Regions from separate parts of the Homo sapiens genome. Here regions 2 and 3 are each linked to region 1. The links are contacts of gene promoters, found by promoter capture Hi-C in blood cells and fetal thymus (Javierre and others, 2016). All regions are on one chromosome and are shown on one strand. The core of a region is centred on a gene start or on the middle of the fragment in contact, and the rest is flanking DNA. Distances in the headings are between cores, read along the strand shown.

What was found. Contacts are between HindIII fragments. The CHiCAGO score rates a contact against its expected background, and 5 or more counts as called.
Region 2: a contact is called between a fragment that was not itself captured here and the fragment with the promoter of PANK2 in region 1, in 15 of 17 cell types (naive CD8 T cells, megakaryocytes, erythroblasts and 12 more). The highest score is 9.6, in naive CD8 T cells.
Region 3: a fragment that was not itself captured here is called in contact with the fragment with the promoter of PANK2 in region 1 in 1 of 17 cell types (erythroblasts); the score reaches 5.6 in erythroblasts.

Annotation. Positions count from the first base shown.
Region 1 is chr20:3,887,583-3,891,372 of GRCh38, forward strand. PANK2 (pantothenate kinase 2) reads left to right here and starts at 1,805. Exons shown (of 7, transcript NM_001386393.1): 1 at 1,805-2,146. The coding sequence starts at 1,849. PANK2-AS1 (PANK2 antisense RNA 1) reads right to left here and starts at 1,591. Exons shown (of 2, transcript XR_001754478.3): 1 at 1,157-1,591; 2 at 1-967. RefSeq lists an enhancer at 880-1,431 and silencers at 1,440-1,499, 1,690-2,189. The HindIII fragment of the contact is 15,092 bases long and covers 1-3,790 here.
Region 2 is chr20:4,087,505-4,091,294 of GRCh38, forward strand. No RefSeq gene overlaps it. Among named protein-coding and RNA genes, the nearest start is that of SMOX, 59 kb to the right of the region's middle. The HindIII fragment of the contact is 6,501 bases long and covers 1-3,790 here.
Region 3 is chr20:3,753,838-3,757,627 of GRCh38, forward strand. ADISSP (adipose secreted signaling protein) reads right to left here. Exons shown (of 6, transcript NM_001258429.2): 4 at 1,632-1,770; 5 at 560-682; 6 at 1-321. The coding sequence ends at 221. Among named protein-coding and RNA genes, the nearest start is that of ADISSP, 12 kb to the right of the region's middle. The HindIII fragment of the contact is 3,788 bases long and covers 1-3,144 here.

The DNA.
Region 1 (3,790 bases), core at 555-3,054:
GGATTACAGGAGTTGAGCCACTGCGCCCGGCCGCTTTCTTTTGGTTATCATAAGGCGGGCAGTAGCTGAACTTCTCAGGAGTCCAAGCTCTGTCATTCTTTAGGCTTTGTGCTTCTGGATAAGTTACCTCATCATCCAAATGTTACTGCAAGGACTAAGTGAGATGTAGAGGCAGTGGGCAAATTGTGTAAAAATACTACTGTTTCAAGTGTTTTGATGTTGGAGTTCATCTTGCCAGCCAAGGGATGATGATACTTTGATTCTTCAGGATGATCAGAGCTCAGACTTGGACGGAAGCTCCCTCAGGTCAAGGAGGACCACATTTTTTGGGGGGTGGAGAGAGGAGGCAGAAAGAGAGGCAATGTCAGGCACTGAGATTTAGAAGAGTAGCTATAGCTGTTTTTGGTTCTTGTAGATCCGTCTGTGTTGGCTTCCTACAGGAGCTAGAATTTTCAGAGCTAGTCCTACAGTGAGGGGAGCTAACGTGGAGTGGGCGTGAGAATTCTATTCAGCAAGCACAAGCGAAGCTCAACCTTTTTGTTCAGCCTGCTACAACCAATCATTATGGGAGAGGGGAATAAGGATCACTGCCCAAGGGGCATTAGGATCACTGCCCAGTGGGCATTACAGTCTCCCCAGGGAGGCACTCTTTTTTATTTTTTATTTTTTTTGAGACGGAGTTTCGCTCTTGTTGCACAATGTTGGGTCACTGCAGCCTCCGCCACCCGGGTTCAAGCAATTTTCCTGCCTCAGCTTCCCAAGTAGCTGGGATTATAGGCATGGGCCACCACGCCCCGCTAATACGGAGGCACTTTTAATTAGCCCACAGTCCAGTGAAATTTGACGGAGTGAGGAAGTGACCTCAGAGTACAGAACGGGATGGGATCCTTCCGGGCTTGGGCAGCCTTTGGTAGTGGGGATGCTTGGAAGGGTCAGGGTCTCAGTCCTGGAGGTGACCAATTTTTCTCTCCAAAAGAGAAAGGAAGATGATTAAAAAAAAAATCCATGCTCCAAAGCGGCAGCCAAATCCTTCTATGGCCCCCAATGCATCACCCAGAAAGGGGCTCCAGACTCTCCTGCAAAAGGCCAACTCTACTTCCCGGCTCCCACTTCCCCTCCTTCGCCACAGGAGGGTGGCGAAGGATTTATAACCCACCTCTTTCTTTCAGTTGCCATGGAGACAAGCCCCAGTCCTTTCATTCCTTCTGGTACCTCTCTCTCCAACGCAGGCGGAAAGGAGGCGGCTTAGCCCAAACATGCTGGGGGAGGGGCTGGCGGCCTCGACGGCAGCTGCGGAACTAGGCCGAGGGACAAAGGCTAAGGTCAGCCGCGGTTCAAGCCCTTTCGTCTGCCGACGACCAGCGGCCAGACGCTGCGGGAGCACTGCTGGGCTGGAGGAGGGCTCGAGCTGCGAGGACGGCACGGAGCAGCGGGGTGGGACTCGGGGTCGCCCCAGGAGAGTTCCGCGGCCCGGGGGGGCAGAGGCATGCACAAGTGGGGGGCGGAAGGAGGGGGTGGATGAGGAGGCTCGGGCCCTTCCACCCACGCGTCCATTGGGCGGCGCCGCCATCACTCTCTTCTGGGCTACACCGCCTTCTCTTCCTCCGCGGAACCCGGATCCCCTCCTCCACCACCCTCTCCCCGCCCCGTCACGATAGCCTCTCATTGGACGGAGGCACGGTCAATCCTCCTCGAGTTAGGGAGCCGACTGGACGCGAGGCCTTTGGGCCGTCCCCAGCCTCGTCGGATTGGCTTCCTGCGCGTTGGCGCAACGGAAGAGGCGGCCGGCCGAGGGCGCGCCTCTGCTCTGGCTGGACTGCCGCGGAGGAGGCGAGAAGGAATCCGACGCTGGGGGGCTTGCTCGGGCGGCAGCGACTGCTGCTGCGGATGGGAGGGGGCCGGCTCGGCGCGCCCATGGAGCGCCACGGCAGGGCTTCCGCCACCTCCGTCTCGTCGGCTGGGGAGCAGGCGGCCGGGGACCCCGAAGGGCGGCGGCAGGAGCCACTGCGGCGCCGGGCGAGCAGCGCGTCGGTGCCCGCGGTCGGGGCCTCGGCTGAGGGCACGAGGCGGGATCGACTGGGCTCTTACAGCGGCCCCACCTCGGTCTCCCGCCAGCGCGTCGAAAGCCTGAGGAAAAAGCGGCCGCGTAAGTGTTCCGTGGGGCGCCCTCCCGGCCCGCCCTGCCCCCCCTTCCGGCCCACCCTGTCCCCTTCCGGCCCCGCCGCCGTTTTTCCCGCGCGCGGACACTGTCCCCGCACGGTGGTCCCTCGTTGGTGCGTGGCCTGACATCCGGCTGGAGGCCTCGGGTGCTCCGAAAGCGGTACCTTCGGGGGCCCCCCCGCACCCATTGGTATGCACTTCCCGCTTGTTGGAGTGGAGGGCTTTTCCCCAGGACCTGTCCTCCCTTTTCTTAGCTCCTTGGGCATTCTCTTCCTGAGGGTCACATGATTTTATCCTCGAGAAGGCTTCTTTTGACTCATTTCCACCTCCTTTCCTCCCAAATCCTTTGAATCCCCAATGTTTGTTTTCCGTGGGTTTCCAAAGAGCTGCTCTCTAATACTTTAAGTCCCTTTTATTCGTCAATTTCGGGCTTACTGGAAAATGGTGAACTGCCCCTTGAGTTGCACCAGGCCTGAAACTGTATTCCGTGCACCTCTAAGGTGGCTGCCCTTCTTCTCGTGAGAATCCAGGTCATCTCTCACCCACATATCCCCTCCGTTTTCCTTCTGTCTATTTGCAGGTACTCACGATTCAGAACTGTGGCATTCTGGGCATTAAGGCTCTTTGTTTTGAGGGGAAACAACATCTTTCTGAATTTTGCCTTGGGAGTTGCATACGCTCCTCCCAGAGAATCCGTTTCCCCATTTTATTAGGTTTCTTTTTCTGTGTTGTGTATTTTCTCCCCTTTACAAGTCTTCAATTCAGGACCGCTGCCTGGCAGCCATTGCTGCTGTTGAAAGTATCAATTGTCCTGATACTGTAATATGAGCTTTACAGTGTGATGCCATTTTACATATGGTTGGACTTTTTGGTGGGTGTTGCCAGATTCCTATTTCAGGAAATTGACTTGTTTAAATGCAGATTGTGAGAGGGAGGGAAAATGGCAAGATGTGAGATTTTTATTGAATAGTCTTCTACCTTAGCCCAGTCACCCAACTGCTTTTTTGAATCTTCTCTGATATGGATGATTAAATGTAGTTCTATTTTGCTGTGAAAAGTTTGGGAGTTTTCAGTTCTTTTGTCTTTTTCCATCTTCTTGCAACAGATTTGGAAAACAGATTCTTAACCTGTGCCATTTTCAGAGTCAGTCACCTAGTTTTGTTTTATTTGAGAAGCACCTGAGTTTGAAGCAATGCAAAATATGAGATCCTTCATGGTTTTGTATTACATCGTTGGAAATGGATGTAAATTCCAAAGATTCAGCAAATAAGAGTATAGCCATTAGCCACAAGGGTTTTTTTGGTTTGTTTTTTGTTTTTTACTTTGAGACAGCGTCTTGTTCTGTTGCCCAGGCTGAAGTGCAGTGGCATGATCATGGCTCATTGTGGCCTTAACCTCCTGGGCTCAAGCCATCCTCCTGCTTCAACCTCCTGCATTGCTGGGACTAAAGGCACGTGCCACTATGCCAGGCTAATTTTTCAATTTTTATTTTTTTAAATAGAGATGGGATCTCTTATGTTGCCCAGGCTGGTCTTGAATTCCTCCTGGTCTCAAGCGATCTTCCCACTTCGGCCTCCCAAAGTGCTGGGATATAGACGGGAGCCATTGTGCCCGACCTGGCAGTCGTCTA
Region 2 (3,790 bases), core at 820-3,319, 200 kb after region 1:
AACAGGCCATGGATCAGTACTGCGGGAGCTGGAGACCCCTGCTGCAGAGGATCTGACTCTTTTTGGCCCTGGGAGGGAGTGGTTCACAAAAGAAAAAGAAAATTACAATAGTCCCCCACCTTATTGGCAATTTTGCATTCTGCGGTTTCAGTTAGATGCTGTCAATCACAGATTGAAAATATTGAATGGAAAAATTCCAGAAATAAATAATTCATGTTTTGGCCAGATGGGGTGGCTCACACCTGTAATCCCAGTACTTTGGTAGGCTGGGACGGGCAGATCACTTGAGGTCAGGAGTTTGAGACTAGCCTGGCCAACATTGTGAAACCCCTTCTCTACTAAAATACAAAAATTAGCTGGGCATGGTGGTGTGTGCCTGTAGTCCCAGCTACTTGGGAGGCTGAGGCAGGAGAATCGCTTGAACCTGGAAGGCAGAGGTTGCAGTGAGCCAAGATTGCACCCTTGCACTCCAGCCTGGGTGACAGAGTGAGACTCAGTCTCAAAAAAAAAAAAAAAAAGAAAAAGAAAAAGAAAAAGAAAACCAAAAAACAAAATGAGCAACTCCCATTTTAAATTGCCTGCCATGCTGAGTAGAGTGAATCATCCCTCTGTCCAGCACGTCCATGCTGCATATTCTTCCCGCTCATTAGTCACTTGGTAGCTGTCTTGGCTGTCAGATCAACTGCTGAGGTATCGCAGTGCTTATGTTCAGGTAACCCTTACTTCATTTAATAACGACCCCTGGATGCAAAAGTGGTGATGCTTAACATCATCACAACATAATTATTATTAACAATAATAACTGAGAATAAAATAGAACAGTTGTTATAATTGTTCTATTTTATTATCAGTTATTATTGTTAACCTCTTAACTGTGCTTAATTTATGCATTATACTTTATGGTGGATATGTACATATAGAAAAATCCATAGTATGTATAGGGTTTGGTACTATCTGCGGTTTCAGGCATCCACTGGGGGTCTTGAATGTATCCCCTGCAAATAAGGGGGGGGACTAGCGTTTCTGTCTTCACCAGGCCTAGATGTGTCTTGCCTGCCGAGGAAAGATGTATAGTTAAGATGTGACAATTATCTGTCAGTTGGTGGAGTTTCACCCACTTAGTTGGTCTTCTTACTGTATTTTGAGATATCTTTATTTACAGGAGGCAAAATAGAGGTCCTGGGTCAGTCCTCAGCCCTCCACCCCCAGCCTTTATGCCTAGGAGACTTTGAGTTGATGGGGAAAGATGGTTTCTGCCCTTGGGGGACCCACACAGGGTCCTTAGTATAGAGCCTGGCGCTCCACAGGGACCCGGTATTGAATATGGGATGGAGAGGAGCAAAGAGATCCTGCCAGGGAGGTTGTAGGAAGATCAATGGGTCACAGAAGCTACAGAAGGGCACACAGTAAGGCCGTGAGAGTGGGTAAAAAGGAGTGTGGGAGCTCTCACCTGCTCTGTGCTGGGATGTGGGTACTGGTCTCCTGGGAGTGAGCAGTTGGGCCCTCACCCAGTTGGAGGGCCCAACCACAACCACGGCAAATCCCAAAGGCCAGGAACAGGGACTAATGTGGGGTCCAGGGATAAAAGCAGATTTCTGAGATACAGAAAGCCCAGGGTCTGGCCTAAGGGGCAGCTGATATGCCCAAGAGCAAGTTCAAGGGCAGAGCAAGTTCGAGTGTACTGCAGACAGCCTTGGGACAGGGACATCCAATTTCATGGGCCAAGGAGAACAGTGGAAAGTCCAGGTAGTCAGGAGCCCTTGAAAGTCTAGAGGGTGGTGGGCTTGGTTGGGATGTGGATGGACATATATATATATGTATATACATATATACACACACACCATGGTGTGTGTCTGTGTGTGTATATATATATATGTGTATATATATATACACACACATACCTGATATGTTATACCTGACATATGTTATATACATACATACATATACATATATACACACACATATATATATCTGATGGTTTTATATATATAGGGAGGTGTGTGTTTGTGTGTGTGTGTGTATATATATATGTGTATATATATGTGTATATATATGTGTATATATATGTATATATATGTGTATATATATGTGTGTGTATATATGTATATATGTGTGTATATATGTATATATGTGTATATATGTATATATATGTGTATATATATGTGTATATATATGTATATATATGTGTGTATATATATGTATATATATGTGTGTATATATATGTGTATATATATGTGTGTGTGTGTGTGTGTGTGTGTATATATATATATATATATATATATCAGTTTGCCCTTGCTGGATAACAAACCACCCCAGAACTTACTGGCTTAATGCATTAACCATTTATTATTTCTCTAGGCTTTTGCAATCAGATGCTGGGTTGGCTGGAAGCTGGCTGGTATAGCGTGGCCATGCAGCAGGCTAGTCTAGGCTTAGTCACATAGTGATTGCAGGGTTTCAGGAAAACAAATGAAAACATGCAAGATCTTATAAGGTCTTTACTTGGAACTGACAGACTGTCACTTCTGCCAAACTCTTTTGGTCAAACAACTCTCAAAGCCAAGCCTCACTTGAAAGAGTTTGGGAAAAAGTTCTGATTCTTTTGTTTGTTTGCTTTAGAGACAGGGTCTTGCTCTGTCACCCAGACTGGAGTGCGGTGGCGTAATCATAGCTCACTACAGCCTCGAACTCCTGGGCTCAAGCAGTCCTCGCAGCTCAGCCTCCCGAGTAGCTGGGACTACAGATGTGAGCCACAGCACCTGGCAAAGTTCTGCTTCTTGATGAGAGATGTTACTAAATCATATTGCAAAGGGAGGGGTGGAGAATTGCGGCCATTTTTGCAATCAATCTAACGCAACACCCACTTGTGAAAGACAGAAACCTGGGTGACATCCTGAGTCCTTCCTCCCACTTCTCCGACATCCGTTACCTCACCAAGCCAATTTGATTTTCACCCCCCAAAACGCCATTCAACTTTTCCTATTGCCACCACCCCAGTCCAAGGAACTTGTCTACCTGGTCTACTCACATTTGCTGTAGCTGTGCTCTACTATCGTGGCCACATAGCAGCCTATAGGACTTCTTCAAAGTACAAGCCAGGTCCCATCATTTCTCCCTGCCCATACCCTTCAAAGACTCTGTATTAGTCCATTCGCAGTTGCAAGCAGAAGAAACAGGCTCTGATTATGGCAAAAAAAAACACAAAAAAACAAAAAACCTAATGGAAGGGTATTGATTAGCTCACAGAATATCTTGAAGACTGGACCCAGAAATCACGCAGGCACCAAAGGTAGCAGCTGGATAGCCAAGACCACGATGAAAACCATGCTGCTGGAACATCTGGGGGACACTGTGGCCATCACCACCATGTAGCCAGGCCCCAGGATGCTGCTGCTGCCACCACTGCCAGGATGAATAGTTCACTGTCCTTGGCTTCTTGTATCACTCACTACAGGCTCAAAGAGCTGGGTGGAAGCATCTGATTGGCTAAGCCTCCAGTTTCCATTTCATTTCTGTGCTGACTCGGTCAGTGGAGGATTCCTAGGAATTCCCAGGATGAGGAAAGATGCTGGAAATTCAGTTGTTCTCAACCTTTACTGTGTTTTGCAGGTTCCCAAAGCCACTGGGGGCTGGGTGGGTATCTTCTCTGGCACATGGCATTTCTGCTGTAATAAAGGTTCTTTTAGTTAAAAGTCACAAACCCCTTATGGTGTAAGTGATAAGGTGGTGGGGATGGGACCTTTGTTTTTGCAAAGCTGTAAAGAGGAAAAAGTTAGTCTGGGCCCCTGAA
Region 3 (3,790 bases), core at 1-2,500, 130 kb before region 1:
GGAGACTGAGGCACACAGAGAGGAGGAAGTGGGAGAGGAGGACGAGGGAGGGGCAGGGTGGCAGCACAAATGAAGGCAGAGGTGAGAGGCGTGGGCAAGGCCACTCCACCCCCACACCCACCCCAGAGAGGGGCGAGGAAGCCACACCATCACGCAGCATGTCGGGGGGACAAGGCGGGGTTTAAGGCTGAGGGGCCCGGGGCAGGCGGGGCCTCGGGCCTCAGTCAAAGCCGTGCCAGTCGCTGTGCTCTGAGTCGTATTCCAGCTCGGCGCCCACACACTTGACACCATCCAGCAGCATGGGCGTGCCGTGGTGCCGGTCTGCAAGGCAGGGTGCAAGTCAGTGCCATGCTGGCCCCCGGCCCCACCCATGCGGCCCACTAAGGGGACCCCTCCCCTTCCCTCAGGGATCAGCTGGAGGTAGGGACCTGCCAAGGAGGTTGAGAACCCCTGAGCCGGGCAAGGATCCCTTGTTCAGCCTTGGTTCCCTGAGGAGGACAGAAACCCTCGCAGTCGAGCTTGTGCATCCCTCCTCCAACCAGGAGCCTCACGCTCTCACCCATGACGCGGGCCTGCACCGTCACGCGCACACAGGTGCCAGTGCCACCTTCGCAGGCTAGCAGTATCTCCTCTTTGAGGACGCCCTCTTTGTGCGCCGAGTACTCACACTTGACACTATAACCTGCCCGGGGACAGGGGCAATTGGTCAGCACCTCCCCCAGCCTCCCCGATCCTGCCCCTGGCACTCACGGGCCCCTACCCACCACCATGGGGGGACTGCATGCTAAGCCCCCCCAAGAAAGGGGCAGGGATGGCCCTTCTGGAGCCCAGAGACCCATTCCCCCTAGCAGGGGTGCACAGGTCTCAAAAACCCATTCTTCAGTGAGCTGGACATGCCTCCAGCCTGTGGGCCACCCCAATGTGGCTCCAAGAGTGAATGAAGTAGGGTCCAATTCAGGCTTCCAAAAGAAGGTCTGGCTGTTTTCTCCCAAAAGGAAGGCAGGGAGAGGCGGTGATGAGGAGTGAGGGGGGCAGGGCAGGGTAGGCTTTGAGCAGATCCGATGGCAAGAGGTAAAGGCCTGAGGGGTGTCAATCCATTGAAGGGCAAGGTCATGAAGAGGCTGGTGACGGGGACATGAAACTGAAGCTGGAGCTCCACGAAACTGACACCCTAGCCTCTGCCAGGCTGGGAGTGGGGCATGGGGCAGGGCCTGAAGTGAGCCTGATAGGAACAGCAGCCTGAAACCCAAGGTCTGGGACTGGTGGGTGCTAGGAGTTATCCACACGGTGTGTGTAGCTCCAGCAGGTTTTTCTAGAGGGTTAGGGAGGCAGGAGGGAAGGCTGGAGGCTTCAAACCAGTTCCTCAGCAGCTCCCATCTTGGTTACTGCCCCACGGAGGTAACCATCACACCATGGGCAGGTACAGGGAAGTATGAGCTCATGGACTTCTGTTCAGGACAGGGAGCAAGGCCTGGAGTGTGGGACCTGCCATGCTGCCACAGTGCAAGCTCACAAAGAGGTGCCACATCCCCGACTTGCTGAGCTGCCCATCCACCCTAGTTGGAAGTAAGGGAGCACCCCATGTTCTCACTCCCACACCCATCCAGGCCCTGCTGGAGGAGGGGACGCACCTTCAGGGACGGGCACCACGCTGAGGAGCTTGAGGTGCAGGCTGGGGACAGGTGCCTCGCGGACATCCTTGCTCAGCCTGTGCACTGGGGGCAGAGTGAAGGTAATCTCATACCTGTGCAGGATCTTCAGGAAGCCAACCTACAGCAGGAGAGGTGAGGGAGGGAGGCACCTTCACTTCCTGCTTCCCGCAGGCCCACCCAGTTGTGCCACCTATGATCCCATGCGCCCCAGCACCTGCTTCCCCAGAGAGCCCAGAAAGCCCAACTCCCTCCATCACTCCAGCTGATCGACCCCCAGCCCAGTGGCCCCAGCCCTTTCACAGACCCCTTGAGGGTCCCAGCCCTACAGCTTGGCCAGCAAGATCCTCAGCATCTGTCTCACGGGCCCCAAAGTCCTCAGTGGCTCATTTCATAGACAGGAAAATGGAAACCACAAAATGACTGGCCAAAGGCTATGTAGTGTGGCCAGGGTCAAGTCCTCCCTAGACTTCTTGGCCATTCCTGCTATGCATGGCACCCAGCAAGGCACCACCCACTGCCTACAAGGGAAAGTTCAAAGTCCCATGGGTCATTCACCTGTCCCCATCACTGCCAGTATCCCAGGGTCAGGGATGCTGGTCCTCCATTCGCTCATAGGATGACACCAGGCCACAGATAGCGTGGGATGAGGGATGGGATCAAATTAGAGATATGACAGTAGACCAGCTGTGTCAGCCCAGAGCTGGCCCACAGGCCTGGCACCAGCCACTGAACTGGGGCTCCTGGCTGCCCTGCTGGCACTGGACTGGGGATGCCTGCCTGCCCACTCAAAGGCTGTGTCCAATGGCCCATACTCACGACCCAAGCAATTTCTGTTGTTCATTCACAGTGCTTGGTGACAACCACCCTCTGGGACAAATGCCATTCTTGGAAACTCCAGTAGTATGAAGGGTCACAAGCCAGGGTGGTTGCTGAGCAGGGGGGCTGGTGGGGGTGCCACGCCAGCAGGCAAAGGGTGCCTGCTGTACTCCCAGCTTGCATGGGCACACAGAGTCCTGCTCACAGTTACTGGGGCTGGGCAGCCCCATCCCTGGGGGCCAACTGGGACTGGCTGCAGAGAGTTTTAGCCATTCAATGGGACCAGGTTGATATTGCTACATGACAAACTTCAATCCATGTGCCCCCCTCATGCTCTGCTGGTAGGGGGCACATCCCTCAAGAAGGCTTTCTGGCTGTACCTGCTAACTGTGACCCTGTGACCCAGGGGTACTACTTATAGAATTTTCCAGGGGAAATAGAGATGTGCAGAAAAATACTCTTCGCTGCCCTATTTATAACAATGAAAACAAAAACAGCCGTAACACCCAGGAACAGGGAGCCAGCTAAGTCAATGATGACACGTATCATGGACCAGTAGGCAGTTGTAAAATCTCGTGGAAAATTATTTACTGACACAGGTAGGAGACAGTTCACAACAGAAGCAAGCAAAAACCAGTGTGGACACGGTGAGGCCAGCTTTTGTTTTTGGAAACAAAGCTTTTTAAAATAAGCTGGATCCATCACCATAGTGTTTTCAGAAAAATAAATAAATAAATAAATAACATTTTAAAAAGCTGGAATAAGCCAGGTGTGGTGGCTCACGCCTGTAATCCCAGCACTTTGGGAGGCCGACACGGACGGATCACGAGGTCAGGAGATCGAGACCATCCTGGCCAACAGAGTGAAACCCCGTCTCTACTAAAAATATAAAAAATTAGCTGAGAGTGGTGGCACGCGCCTGTAATCCCAGCTACTCTGGAGGCTGAGGCAGGAGAATTGCTTGAACCTGGGAGCTGGAGGTTGCAGTGAGCTGAGATGGCGCCACTGTACTCCAGCCTGGAGACAGCAAGACTCCGTCTCAAAAAGAAAAAAAAAAGCTGAAATAACACACATCAGAATATTAACCATGGTTATTTTGGGATAGTATGACTGTGGGTACTTTTAAATTTCTTCATATTTTCTCTGTCTTCCAAATTTTCTCATGTCTATTAAGACATGAGTGGATTTTGCAATGAGGGGAGAGAGCTATTTTTAAGTGTTGGTTTGTTCCATTTACTCTCTTGGGGAAGCTGTCAGCTGTAGGACAAAGAGTGGGAACTTCAGAGTTGGACAGAAATGGATACAAACCTGGGCCCCCCAGG